2 separate regions of the Homo sapiens genome follow, and region 2 is linked to region 1. Evidence: promoter capture Hi-C in human tissues and cell types (Jung and others, 2019). All regions are on one chromosome and are shown on one strand. Each heading gives the region's core, a stretch centred on a gene start or on the middle of the fragment in contact. The rest is flanking DNA. Distances are from core to core; before and after follow the strand shown.

Region 1 (7,433 bases), core at 2,025-4,524:
GGGTTGGTGGCTGGAAGGTGGGTGTTTTGTGACTGTGACAATGATCCTTTGTGTGTGTGTGTGTGCTCAGTATCAGCCTGTACATCTATCTGCATCTCTATAAAGCTGTGTGCATGTCTGTCCTTTAGGAGATGGAGATTTCCACAGGTGAGTTTTCCTGGGTTACCTTGCCCATTTCACCACCTTGTGGCCAGTGCTGTGTCTGGGGGTCAGGCTAGATTCTTAGAGCTCTTCAAGCCAGCAAGACCTTAACAATCTCCCCCAACCCCATTTTATGTTAGCCTCATCCTCAGATAGGGTGTGGGGTGGCTCTGGCACTTTGACGTGCCCTGTTCAGATGTGACTGTTTTGTGAAACCACCCTGCTTCGAGGGTGCTTCCTAGCCCCCTGTTTCAGGACCACAGTGATCCTGACAGGGCCTTCGTAAGTGTCCGGCCCCAAGCATCCTGGGGTGGACGTCTGAGGTCACTGACACAGGAGCGGGGTGCTTTGGGAGCCTACAACCCGGCCCTTTGGAGCTGATCTCCCACTATGAAGGGCGAGTGCGGAAAGGGAGCAGAGGGAATTGTTTCCCCGAATCTGTAGTACTATAACTGCCCACCAGGTGGGGTTCCAGGGCAGAGAGTGAAGCCGAGGTGACCCAGCGCTAGGAGCTAGACCAGCGTTTAGATCTCCTGCCACACCAGCCTCGGAAGCGCTCACACAGGGAGGGACAACACATCTGTGCGCACCTTAGACGCTCACACACATTCTCGTCTCGTGAACTCTAAAGCAGAACTCGTACTGGGTGCAGGCAAGGTGTTAAAAGCGGAGTCTAGTATCGTTGACACACACACTACTCTAAACTAAAGATGGGATATCGACTCTGGCTCCGGGAGTGTGAGAGTGAACGCCAGAGCCAAGGGGGGCTGAGGGAAGCAGGATGCACGGGAGAGAGAGGGGCAGACATTAGCTAGACCAATGTCGGGGTTGCTGTACGCAGCTCCATGTTAACACAGGCTCGCAGGAGGAGAGGCCAGATGACAGATGCACGGATGCGCAGACACACTCATGGCTCTACAAAGAATACACAAACCCACAGACATACCACGTCGCTCCTCAGACGTCGGGCCGACGCAAGGCCACGCGCGCGAACACACAGGTGCGGCCCCGGGCCACACGCACACCGTACACAGGCACGCGCGCCGGGCCCTCTGCTGCCAGCGCTGAGAAGGTGGCCGTGCTCACCCAGCATGTTTATTTACTCATTTGTATCAATGAACGTTTGTGCCCGTCTTCTCCCGCCTCTGGGTACCGGGGCCGCCGCGTTTGTCCCCGCGCAGGACACTTGCCGGACCAGTATCGGGGTTCCCCGACGCTGCGGGCGGTGGAGGGGGACTACAAAAGCAGGGGAGGGGGGTCCCAATGTGCAGGAAAGGAGGGGCTGCAGAGTCAGCAGCCTGGGACGCTGACGGGGACAGGAGAACCTCCAGGTTCCGTAGGGTAAGAGACATATGGCGGGGGCGGACCTTAGCATCGGAGGTGTGAGGATATAGGGATCGGGAATGGGGGATCTGGCTTAGGGGGATTGGGACTGGTAACTCAGGGGTCCCTGGAGATAAGAGCCAGCGGGATCCCGGGGGTTGGAAGCTCGGGACCCTAAGGCACAGTTTCGAGGGCTTTGGGCGCCTGCCAGTCGAGGGGGCAGTCCGGCCAGGACCTCCGCTGCCGGGGCTTCGGCCCAGGAGGGACTGCTCGGAGCTGGAGGAGGGGACCGCTGACCTGGGAAGGAGGAAAAGAGGAAGGGAAGGAGCCTAGAAGCCAAGCAGGCACTAAGCGAGTGCGCACCGTGTGTGCGGAGGTGTGTGTGTTGTGTGTGTGCGCGTGTGTGTTGTGTGTGTGTGCGCGTAGGTGCGCGCGCGTGTGTCTCATCTCGTCCGTCTGTAGGCGCTGGGCTCAGCGAGACGCCGGCGAGAAAGAAGAGGAGGCGAGAGGTGAACTGAGTTTGATCCTGCGGCGGCTACAAGTGGGTCCCGGGCGGGCTGCGGGCGGCGGGCGGCGGGCGGCCGGGGCGGGGCGGGAGGCCGGGCTGCGCTCTCCAGCTCCGGCCGCGGGCCCGGCCTCTCACCACGCCTCCGGCTTTGTGAGCGCGCGGGTTGGGGCGGGGGGGTGCTGGCGGGGCGCCCACGGCGCAGCCTCCCGCCTCTATATAAACACACGCATCGCCTCGCTTTGGACTCAAATTCACATTGAGAGAAGCTTTTAAAACCACCAGCCCTGAAATCCTGCCTCCTGCTTTTCCCCCTCTTTCATTCCTTTTGCCTTCCTTTCTTTTTTCCCCATTTCTTCCCCCAGCAGCAACTCCAGAGCCGAGAGACCGCGTCCCGGGACGGACTGCCTTTTCTTAATTGATACAATAGCCCAGCTCGGGTTTTCCACCTCCTCCCCCAACCCCACCCCGCCTCACCCCTCCCGCCCGCTGCCGCCGCCGCCGCCGCCGCCGCCGCCGCCGCCGCCCCATCGCCCGCCCGGGGCTCTGTCGCCGGCTGCGTCCCGTCCCGGCCGCGGCCCGCCGGCTCCGCACCCGCGCTCGGGCCGCAGCGCCCGCCTCGCCGCCTCGCCCGCCGCTCCTGCCTCGGGGGTGCTGCGGCGGCTCTGGGGCTCGAGCGCGCCGCCCCGGGCAGCCCAGGGACTTTTAGGCTCCGGCCTCTCCACTCGCCTCAGCCAGGGAGCTTTCTCCCTCGCCCCCAAAGTTTCTGGGTTCGTTGGAATTTTTGGATTCAGGAATTTTTTCTTTTTTTCTTTTTTTCACCTAGGAATTTTGGGGCCATACTGCAATACTTTTGACAAATCGACCGCACTTTCTCTCTGCTAGCTCTCTGCCCCCTTCTTTTTTTCCGAGCAGGGGAAGGGGCTTACGAGAGAGAGGCTCCCTCTGGACAAAGTTTTCCAAAGTTTTCCGAGTGTGATGGTAGCGGGGAGAGCAAACCCACCAGCTTGACTCACGGCTTCATCTCACCACCCCTTGAGCAGCCCCTAAGCCCGCTATAAAGGAACAAACAAACAAACAAACAAACAAAGTTGCACCCCAGTCGCCTCGTGTTTCCTCTCTTCTTTTAGGCAATTTTTTTCCTCCCTCTCTCCGCTCCCCTCGCAGCCTCCACTCCCTTTCCCTTGGCCCCTTCCTCCTTCTCTGTTTCGGCTGGAGGTGCCAGGACCCCCGGCCGCAGCCTCCCCTCCCCCGCCGCTCCGGTCCCCTCCCGTCGGGCCCTCCCCTCCCCCGCCGCGGCCGGCACAGCCAATCCCCCGAGCGGCCGCCAACATGCTCTTTGAGGGCTTGGATCTGGTGTCGGCGCTGGCCACCCTCGCCGCGTGCCTGGTGTCCGTGACGCTGCTGCTGGCCGTGTCGCAGCAGCTGTGGCAGCTGCGCTGGGCCGCCACTCGCGACAAGAGCTGCAAGCTGCCCATCCCCAAGGGATCCATGGGCTTCCCGCTCATCGGAGAGACCGGCCACTGGCTGCTGCAGGTAAGGGCGCGCTCGCTCCGCTGCACTCCGGGGTCCGCTAGCTGCGAGCGCGGGGCAGACGGAGCGGCGGGCCGGCCAGGGGGCGCCGGGAGCCTGAAGGCACTGGTCCCCGCCCCGCCCCTTCCCTCCTCTCTGCCGCAGCAGCCCGGGCTTCCCCAGCCCGCCGGCAGCGCGGTTCCGGGACCACTGGCGCCCGCGGCGCAGGTTCAGGGGGCTGGTAAGAGGGGTTCCCGGACCTGAGGGGGCTCCCAAGATGGACTTGCCTGGGTCGCGGCTGGCCTGGCAGGGGGCGTGGAGCGCCCCGGGGGCGCCTAGCGAGGCGCGGTCCCGGGGGAGGGTCCGGTCCTGAGCCGCTTTCGCCTCCCCTCGGTGCTGCAAGCCCCCAGTCGCCCTCGGCTTTCTGGGGTTGGCTGTGTCGCTGGGAGCCGAAAATTGAGTCGGGAGAGGAGGGGGCTGGTGGCAGCTTGAATTGCCGATTTAAAACTGTGTTCCTGCGGCGCCGTCGGCAGCGCCAGGTACAGTGTCCCTGGTCCGCGGTCCGCGCGAGTGTGTCTGTTTTGTGGTGGAAGAGGAAGAAGGTAACCCAAGGAAAAATGAGAATCCAGGGCTCTAGGCTTTCGGGGAAAAGGGTCTATTTACTTATTGGGTGGGGACAGTTTGGCAGGAGAGGGAAACTTGGGAGAGGTGAGTGTGGGATCCATAGAGAGAGAGTGCGTGTGTGCTTGTTAGATGCCGCACAACCCCACTCTGCTGGTGATAACGGGGGTGAGGCGCGTCAGGGACCAGACCCAGGTAGGTAATGGGGAGATTAACCTGGAGTTCACCTCATCAAGTGCCAGACAATCGCTTTTGCAATGTGATACACACCGGTTTTCTTCTTGGGGTGGGGGAGCGGAGCGCCTCTGCAGTAACTGCGGGAGGTGTATTTGTGTGTACGCGCGTTTGTTCTGTTAGGGGAAGCAGGGATGTCCTGAAACTGACAATCCCCGCACTAGAGAGGTGAAGCGAAAGGTGAGCGCTGCGACCTGTGGGTTTACAGGTGCGAAAGCTTGGCTTGAAATTAACAGACGCGTGCAATCCGCGCGCTCGCGCACACACGCACTCACCCTGCCCCGGGACGAGTGACAGCGGAGCGGGGGCGGGGAGGGGGTTCGAAGTTCCTCTGCCCTGTGGTCTTTCCACGTCCCGGATTAGGCCCATCTCTTTTTGGGGTTGTTCGTGCAATGAGGTGGGGGTCCTTTCAACCAATGGATGTATCACCCCCCCACCCCCCGCAAAGAAATCCCCAGAGCCTTTCCCTCGCCACCACACTTAAAGTGTCAACTGCAGCGGTGCTCTAGGCTTTGGGCCGCGAATTTAGGAAATAAAATAACTTGGGCAACGGCTCCCGCCTTTTAGAGCCAGTCTGCTGAATCCACGGTCTGTCACCACCCACCCCCACTTCGTTTCCTGACCTCTCTGCCCCCCCTCAGGTCCCCATGACCTTTTCTCCGAATCCCACAAGAGCCCCTGGGGGTCAGCGTCCAACCTGCACAGAAGTTAGGGAGGAGGAAACCTAAGCCTCCCCATCCCTCCAACCCGGGGCCCTAGATCTGGAGGTGAGGAGGGAAATAGGGGGTACGTGTACAGGAGCGCCTAAGGGGTTAATGAGAGCCCTCTGAATCCCAGCGTTATTTTTTCGGAGTCATTTATCAGATTTTACGGGGGGACCTCCAAGGGCTCTCCGTTTCCACCGAGCGCCATCTAAACAGAGCCCAGGGCTAAAAATACAACATTTTTGTATAAATTGGACTCGCGGCCCGAGCGGCCGCCCCTATGAAAGTACTCTTTGTGAAGACCGTGGAAACGGCGGACAAATAACTCTTTATTAATGCCACAAAAAACGCACTTTAATTATAGTTAGGCAGATCAGAGGCGGGGGGTGGGGGCGAGGCGGCGGCGACCTCGGAAAATTCACAACCCAACTTTTGTGTTGAAAGAAAAGAAAAACAGAGGAAAAGAAGGAGAGGAAAGACGGAGAGTGAGACGGAGCGAGGGAGACGGGTATAGCAGACGGAGGGAGGGAAACCCTCGCCTCACCACCCCTTCTGTCGCACCCCACCTCCGCCTAGATTTTTCTTAAAGGGGTAGACGCCGTCTAGAAGGGCTGCACGGCAGGGGGAATTATCCCCGCCTTCCAGCCTGGGAGGGGGACAGCGTTCCCGCGGCCCAGCCCCCCTCCTGGCTGCGCGGGCGCTCCCAGCTCGTTCCCCGTCGCGCGCCGGGCCGGAGGCGCATGTGGAAAAGTGATTAGGGCTCCGGGTTCTGCAGAGTCACTTTTCGGCTGTACTGGCGTGTGTGCACATTTAGCTGGAAGTAGTTTTCTGTGGAAAAAAGGAAAGTGAGGAGGGGGACCAACCCGGGCTAGGGGGACTGAGTTGTCCCCTCGGGGGTGCAGGAGCGGGTAGATCTGGAGCCCGAGTCGGTACGCTCGTGGGCTGGCAGGCGGGGCGGCTAGACAGGTGGCGCCCCTCCCCTTTGCGCCGGGTGCTGCCCCGGCAGGAGAAGGGTTAACGTGGGGTGGGGTAACTAGTGCCGACGTCAAAGGTGAGCGGGACGCCCTTGCCCCCGCCCCTCTGAGGTCTCCACGGTTTCCGGTACCCGCGCCCGGCCGGCTCCGCCAGCCGTTTCGAGAGTCCGGCCGGCCCCGGCCCCGCCATCCTCGGCTTGCGCCGCCACCACCGGGGATCTGGTTACCTGCGCGGGTCGCCCTGCCCGGTCCCGCCCCGCCCCGCGCTCGGGTTCCAAACTCCAGGGCGGCAACCAAAGTCCGTCTCCGTTATTTCCAGGGCAAAATGCATTAGGAAAATCGCGGCTCTGGGCCCGTGACCCCGCCCTGCAGAGTCCTCCGAGGGCCGCCGGGTCCCTGCGCGGGCCACACCGGAGAGCGGAGGAAACTCCAACCCCCATCTGTAGTTGCTGCCTCCGGGCACCGACCGCTTACCGCTATAAATAATCTTTGGCCTGCGGCCACCCCGCGGGGTCTCGCCAGCCCGTGGCCCGGAGCCTGGAAATATTTATTCCGAGAGGCTCCCGAGCGCGGGGTGGGGGTGTGGGGGTGGGGGTGGGGGCGGAGACTCCCGCTTCGGGTCCAGCTGTCCGGGATACCTCTTTCCTCTCGAAAGTCATTACCAAAAAACAGCCTCCTGGGGGTGCCCCTGGGCCTCCGCCTCCTTGCATTATTTATTATCCTCTAGGCCCTACTTCGCAGTTCTTGTGCACGCTATGAAAAATAAAACCTGCGTGCTCGTCTGTGTGAGTGTGTTTGGTGGGGAGAGGGGGCAGGTGACTGTACCCCGGGTTGGGGTCCGCCGCCCCTCCCTCGCGGGCCCTCTGCAGAAGTGCACCCTGAGAGAGACCCGGGTGTGGCTCCCGCAGGGTTCTGGCTTCCAGTCGTCGCGGAGGGAGAAGTATGGCAACGTGTTCAAGACGCATTTGTTGGGGCGGCCGCTGATACGCGTGACCGGCGCGGAGAACGTGCGCAAGATCCTCATGGGCGAGCACCACCTCGTGAGCACCGAGTGGCCTCGCAGCACCCGCATGTTGCTGGGCCCCAACACGGTGTCCAATTCCATTGGCGACATCCACCGCAACAAGCGCAAGGTAAGAACTCTGCCCGTTTTCTTCCGCGCAATCCCTCCCCCACCTCGGGGCAAGGAGTTCCTGGAGCCCGGGGAATGTCCCCTACCGAATCTGTGCCCCCCTTTGCACACCATGCTTGAAGACTCCGCAGTTCCCCGCCGACAAGGCCTCGAGTCCGGATCCAGGGCCTGCTCCGGCCTCCTCTTGGTCCCTTTTCTTGCTGGCCGACTGCGTCATGGGCACCCCCAACGGTGGCTTGGAAGAGCTTGAGCGTGCGGGGTCTGGGGTGTCCAAAGCCTGTCCTTGC
Region 2 (7,333 bases), core at 686-3,185, 570 kb before region 1:
CCTTGAAAAATGTGGAGCTATTTGACAGACCAGATGTTTTCAGCATGAGCCATGTGTCTCATCAGTGAATGTGCCTTGCGTCTGCAGACAACATTGTTGAATTTTCCTCATTCTATAAACAATGTTCCAAAATATAACTAAACCCCAAAGTGTGTTTATCTTTTTGGCTTAATTTTTGGCTTTCTATCCGTTCTAAAGTTTCTCTCTAGAGGAATTGCATTTTATTGCACATAGCTCTTCATACCTAATTGTAGTATAAACACCATTCTGTTTACACTAAACCATGTGAATTGTATTGTTTTTGAGCCTGTAAAATTTTAATAAGAGCAATGATTTCAGATTTAACTATATTTGTACTTTTATTTCTAAATTTAGGGGGAATAAAACTTTCTTCCCTCCATTTACTTAAACAAAGACTTTGATTTTTGGAACACATGAGGGAAAACATTAAAACAAAACAAAACAAAACAAAAAAACCAAGTAAAACCAGTCTCTAGTCTTTAGCATTTGTGGTACTAAATTCATTAGAGCAAGAAGAGTTTAAGTATCTGCTGTGAAAATCATTCTTAAAGTCCAAAATAGAGCTATAAGTCTTTTTTCTTTTTAAGGATGGAACTGAATTTTTCCTATACCAAATATATCATGGGAAACATGGAAATTAGGAAATTAAAAGTATGAAGGAGAAAATTATCTTGTAATATTGCCATCCAAAGGAAATTAGCTCGTAATATTGCCATCCAAAGGAAAAATATGCCTAACATTTTTGTATTTATTTTTCTCATTTTGCTCTCTACTTTTGTGTGTGTGTGTGTTTCCAGTGATATATATCTCATATATGCATACATGTTCATAATTTATATGTGTAAGTATTTATAATTTTGAAGAATATTATGATTATACTTGTAAGATCTTTTTTTTTTTTTTTTCAATTAGAGCACCATTCCTGGAGGTACTGCAATGCCAGGTTGATGCATGAAGTGGACTAAATAAGTTCCCATTTTATCTCCCTGCTGCAAAAATCCATTTAATAAATATTGTCCTCTGATAAGAGGATGTATCAGATATTAAACTGATAAGATATATCAGATATTAAATTTGATCTTAGCCAAAAGGCCAAGAGGCAATTAGATCTATTTTTTGAAATGATTTTCATTCAACAATATTGTAAACATTTTGCTATTTTATTAGCCTTTTACTACTTCTTATTAGACATCTAGGTTAGTTTTTTTATTTGCTAATATAAATAATTCTATAATTCAAGAGGCTTATACATACTGCTGTGCATCTTTTTTTTGTTTGGAAATGCAATTGCTTAAAATAGTTGTTTTGCTAAAATTCTTCATTGAAAACTTGTGTCATTAATAAAAACCTGTTTGTCAGCTGGCTGTGAATTCCATTATTGAAACCCCTGATGTATTACAAATTATTTTTTAAGAAATATTTGGCAATTTGATTTGCATTTTTTCACATATCAGTTAAACATTTTTTTTTTTTTTTCATATGTTGGCCCTTTTTGGTTCTTTTGTGAATTTTCTTTGTTCATTTTTTTTTTTTTTTTTTTTTTTTACAAAAACAACTCAAGTTTATTAACCTTTTTTCTTTGAGATGGCGTCTTACTCTATCACCCAGGCTGGAGTGCAGTGGTGTGATCTCAGCTCACTGCACCCTCCGTCTCCTAGGGTCAAGCAATTCTCCTGCTTCAGCCTCTTGAGTAGCTGGGATTATAGGCTCCCACCAACATGCCCGACTAATTTTTGTATTTTTAGTAGAGAAGAGGTTTCACCATGTTGCCTAGGCTTGTCTTGAACTCCTGACCGCAAGTGATCTGCCTGCCTCAGACTCCCAAAGTGCTGGAATTACAGGCATGAGCCACCACGCCTGGCCTATTAATCTTTTAGGTACACATTACAAATAAACGTTACCAGTTTTTCTCTTTATTCTTATGTTTTCTTTGCATAACTTATTTCGTTTCTACCTATTCAGCTTTATTAATCTTAATTTTATTTGTCCTTCTATGCTTATAGAAGCTTTCCTATTAGACAAATATCATCCCTTTTTTTTTTATGGAATGTCCCTCTGTGTTACTAGCAATATTTGTTGGCTTAAAGTCTTTTGTATCTCATATTAATACAGCCATTTCAGCTCTTTTGTGTTTCCTTTATTTTTTATTTTTATTTTTTGACGGGTCTCACTCTGTTACCCAGGCTAGAATGCAGTGGGCTGATCTCAGCTCACTGCAACCTCTGCCCACCCGGGTTTAAGTGATCCTCCCACCTCAGCTTCCCAAGTAGTTGGGACTACGGGTGCACGCCACCACACCTGGCTAATTTTTTTGTAATTTTTTTGGTAGAGATGAGGTTTTGCCTTGTTGCCCAGGCAGATCTCAAACTCCTGAGCTCAAGTGATCTGCCCACCTTGACCTCCCAAAGTGTTGGCATTATAGGTATGAGCCACTGTGCCCAGCCTTGTGGTTTCTTTTTTTTATGGCATATCTTCTTTCCTCTTTTACTTTCAACCTATTTGTATCTTTGAATCTAAGTGTGTTTCTTGTAGACAATATGTAGTTGGATCATGCTTTTTAAGTCCTGACAATGTTGGCCTTCCAATTGGAGTGCTTAGTCCATTCACATTTAATGTAATTATTGATATGGTTGGATTTTCTTCTTTGTTTTCTATTTTTCATGTCTTTTTTTGTTTTGTTTTTGTTGCTCCTTTACTGCTTTCTTTTGTGTTATATATTTTTAGTGTACTATTTGAATTCTTTTGTTGATTTTCAAATGATATATATTTTTGGTTTTTTAGAGGTTGTTCTATGGATTATAATATGCATCTTATCACAGTCTACTGGAGGTCACTGCTGCTATAAATTTGGTAAATATATAGCAGTAGTTTTGCTTCCATTAGCTCCATTTCTTTCCTACTCTTTTGTGCTGTTATTGTTAGATATATTACACTTAAATATTTTGTAAACCCAATGATACAGTGTTATAATCATTGCTTTAAAAAATCTTATCTTTTAAAGAAGTTAAGAAAAGAGAAAAAATACTTGTCTTTCATATTTAGCATGTATTTACTATTTCCCATGTTCTTTGTTTCTTTCTGTGAATTCAAGTTACCATCTGCTGTCATTTCCTTTCAGGCTTCCTTTAGTATTTCTTGTAAGGCAGGTCTGCTAGCAAGGAATTTTCTGTCTTTGTTTATCTAGCAAGGTATCATATTTCACTTTGATTTTTAAATAGTCATCAGCTAATGATTGGTTAGAGGTTATGCTCAAACAAACTTGAGTGAGTAAGGTTTCCAGTCTTTGCTAATGAGTTTGTATATGGGTTAGGGACTACATTAAAAGCAGTTTTAAAGTCAGCTTAAACTTTTACCTACCTTCTTAGGTTTCCCACGTGCCTGTCTACAGCCTCCTAGTCAGCCAGGGATGAGTGGATTGCTTAGACCCTTTTAGGTGTCGCCTGCAGGTATGCATAGCCTCTCAGCCGGCTAGCAACTTGCGGAGTTTATCAAGCCCTTCTGTAGGTCTTTTATTTTTATGACTTCCCCGTTAAATTTCTGATTAGTCCTTTGGTCTGTTGTTTGCCCCAACCCAAATTGTAACATTTGACCAGTAGAGCTGGAGACTTTTCTTAATTTATTTATTTATTTTTACTGAGTTTGCTACTTTCACTAACAGCATCTCTCAATATGAGTTTTTTGCCCTCTGCTCCAAATTGTGTCAGCCCCTCATCTCAGGAAAGCTGCTGGTTTTCATGACTAGCCATGGCCAATGACCAGGGGTGGAGGAATTAGAGGGGGAGGGTGTTGGAAGTAGCCCCAGGCAAGAAAGCTACAGAGTCCCACTGTTGAGCAGTTATTATGAATAAACACTTCTTGATTTGTTGTTCTCTTTTGTTTAGTTTCCAGAACCCTGAAATAGTTGTTTTGGATAGTTTACATTTGTTTTCTTTGGATAGAAGATTTGCCAAGCTTTTCTGTGTGCCATAGTTGGAAGTCTAGCCTTGGATACTTCATTTTATAGGATGAATTTTTTTTTGGCATTGAGACAATCATTCTTTATTTCCTTTTATTTCTCTTTTTTTAAGATTGAGTCTCACTTCGTCCTCTAGGCTGGAGTGCACTGGCGTGATCTTGGCTAACTGAAACCTCCGCCTCCGGGGTTCAAATGATTCTCATGCCTCAGCTTTCTGAGGTGGCTTGCGCCACCAGGCCTGGCTAATTTTTGTATTTTTAGTAGAGATGGGGTTTTACTGTGTTGACCCGGCTAGTCTCAAATTCCTGGCCTCAAGTGATCCACCTGTCTTGGCCTCCCAAAGTGCTGGGATTACAAGCATGATCCACCATGCCTGGCCCCTTTTATTTCTCTTATGTCATTAATTTTATTGGTAGCTATTTTAAATCTTATGCATTCTTTGGATAAAATCTTTTTTTGATTATAATTTCCTGGTCTTTTAAAGTATGTATTAGTTTTTAATAATTTGAGATTCTTTTCACTGATGTTCTCATTAAAACTTCATGCTGGATTTGTGTTAATGCACAGTGAAAACCAATTCAGGCTAGACATTTTGCCTAACCCTAAAGAAAACTGAGTGAGCTAAAGGTGATCAATTCCTTTTGTAGGCATTATCCTGCACTGAAAACTCTGGAACATCTAGAGCATACCTACCTGCCTCAAGTAAGCCACTATCGATTCTGCAAGGTGATGGTGGACAACATCCCCAAGCTTCGAGAAGAAATAAAAGATGTTTCTATGTCCGATCTCAAAGACTTTCTGGAGAGCATCCGCAAACATTCAGACAAAATTGGAGAGACTGCCATGAAGCAAGTAGGTCTTGGGTTTATGATAGGTTGGCCAGTGGCTTTATCAGTATTGAGTTAAACACAGGTTTCTCTTTGCCAAGTGTCTAGTCATTATCTTATCCAAGTTTCTTATCATTTTAGGGAAGTCCTTCATATTTATGGAAACATATGATTAAAAATGTTTTCATTTTTTTAACAGAGCAATGGACAATTTGCTCTGTAGATGTTCAGTAAATATTGATCAGTTGTGATGGTTTACATTGAGGTTATGAAGAAATTTTTCTACTGTTTGTATACTTCCCTTGACTTTGCATATAATTTGTAGCTTAAGATATTTTAAAGTTCTCCTTCTAGTTAATGACCTAAATTGTACTGCATGTGTCTTTGGCTGATTATTTACTACGTAAGCAAGATAGCATGTTATATATGCATATTTCTGATATTAATAGGTATCAGTGAAAAAAGGCCTATTAGGAAATGCTTTGAATTATGATCAAAGAAAAGGATTTATTAACAGCTTATATATTAAAAAATATGTTAGCAGTATATACATTTGTTAAAAAAATCTTCATTCCTAAGTCACCAAAGTCACAAGGAACATCTAAATTTCTTTTTTTAAATTATGAATGAAAGGTCAGTAATGTTTTATAATGGCATTTGCTCACTTGAAATTTGTCACATTGATTTTATTAAAAATTTTTAGTATACCTGATGATGTAGCCTACAGCAACAAATACAAGAGTCAGTTGTTTATGGAAAGTACTTTTTGGTTCTGTAAACAATAGTGTTCTTGAATAGATCATTTGTAGTTTTTATCATTCTGTGAGGAATGAGGGAATAGATTATATTTCAAATCATATTTTAGGTCTCGACTAGCCTTGATAATCTATTCAGATGTCTATTTGATCTATAATATCTATTTGATCCTCCAAAAGAGATTCTCCAGTTACCCTTTCCTCAGGGAATGCAGATATTTCCCTTTTCTTCCTTTAAATTTTGTCAGTGTTATACTTCACAAAGTGCAGAGTTTAAAACTAGATGATAAACCTGATAGAAATAATTATATGATTTCATTGCTTATAGTGATGGAGAAATAAAATTAATCAGTGACAATATACCTTAGCATTGCTGGGTACGTATTTTGAATACAGGAATGAAGCTATCTTCTAAGATAAGTCTTTATTGTGATTGGTTCAGTTTTTCCTAAGCTTTTAAAATATAGGAGAGTGTAGTACAAAGCCTCTATGGAAGTTGCCTTTTTAAAAATTGCTTTTTCTAGGCCTCTGCTTGAGAAATTAATTTACTTCCCTTTTGATGAAAGAAAGAGGAAGCCATGAAGAATATTACTTTATTTAACGTGAGGCCAGCTGGTCTCATTCCTTAATTATCTGAAGAAATTAAGACCCAGAGGAGGGAAGTAACTTGCCTCAAGTTCAAATACCTTGTAAAGGTCAGATCCTGCATTAGAATTCAGGTTGGGTTGAAATGAATTTGTCTACTATGGTACTCAATCTGTGTAAACTATTAGCTGTTTGCTATATTTTTGTCATATAAAGAAATGATGAAGAAATCTTTTGTGAATCCAGGACTTTTAATTAACTGAGAAATCTTCATTTCTCCTATAAAATATTTCATCTCAGGATCCTTGAGTAAAGATATGTTATGTTAACACATTAAAAAATCTTTTGTAGTACCGAGAGTGTAAGGAAGATAGGAGAGAGAAAATACCATGTACTTTGTACGTAGTAGGTGTTCAATAAATGTTTGAATTCCCAGATAAGAGGGAGAGGAAGTGGTTTATTTCTCACTGCCTCAAGCCCAAAATAGTGTTTCTGGTTTGTGATGGTTTTCTTTGCAATGGTGATTTAAGTACTTAGAATCCTTCCATTGTATGGCTCTTCCATCTTTAAGATGGCTTTGAAGATTGCTTCAGAAGGGGAAAGACCAAAGAGTGTTGCATGTGGGAGGGTCTTTAAGGGCCAGGCATGGATGCCACACATTACTTCTACCCATATTCTGTTGGTCTGAACTTAATTATATAGCCATACCTAGCTGTAAGAGAGGCTGGAAAATGTAATCTCACTCATTCTCTAACAGGAGGAGCAAATAGGTTTGATGAATAATAGCTAGTATCTGGCACAGTCTACCTTCTGGTCATCAAATATCTTTTCATTCTTTCTCTCATACATAGAACACACTCACTCCTTCCTTAGGGGGCAACAGTCCAATGGCCCATGTAGTCACTACATCCATTTCAAAATCTAGTATCTTCCAGGGATGCTCAACCCTCTCCATAAGATTCAGCCATGGTTCCTCATGAGCTGGTAACTACTCAACTAAAATTGCAAGTTATCTGCACTGGTGTCTCCTCCCACCCCCAATATACAATGAAGAAGCTAGAATAAAATAACTATAACAAAACCTTTCATTTAGAAAAGGGAAGAACCAGAGACAAACAATATTCTCTGCTTCATAACAAATCATATAATCTACTTAGGCAGGCCCCGTGAAGTTCCTCTGCTCTGGTAGT

The links. Contacts are between HindIII fragments. The study calls those that stand out against the background at their distance.
Region 2: a contact is called between a fragment that was not itself captured here and the fragment with the promoter of CYP26B1 in region 1, in 1 of the 25 tissues and cell types used here (dorsolateral prefrontal cortex).

The regions. Positions count from the first base shown.
Region 1 is chr2:72,143,703-72,151,135 of GRCh38, reverse strand. CYP26B1 (cytochrome P450 family 26 subfamily B member 1) reads left to right here and starts at 3,274. Exons shown (of 6, transcript NM_019885.4): 1 at 3,274-3,505; 2 at 6,923-7,147. The coding sequence starts at 3,302. RefSeq lists enhancers at 3,385-3,886, 4,076-4,598. The HindIII fragment of the contact is 9,668 bases long and covers 1-7,319 here.
Region 2 is chr2:72,715,598-72,722,930 of GRCh38, reverse strand. EXOC6B (exocyst complex component 6B) reads left to right here. Exons shown (of 22, transcript NM_015189.3): 6 at 4,624-4,828. It also overlaps the pseudogene RNU2-39P. Among named protein-coding and RNA genes, the nearest start is that of EXOC6B, 110 kb to the left of the region's middle. The HindIII fragment of the contact is 4,829 bases long and covers 1-4,349 here.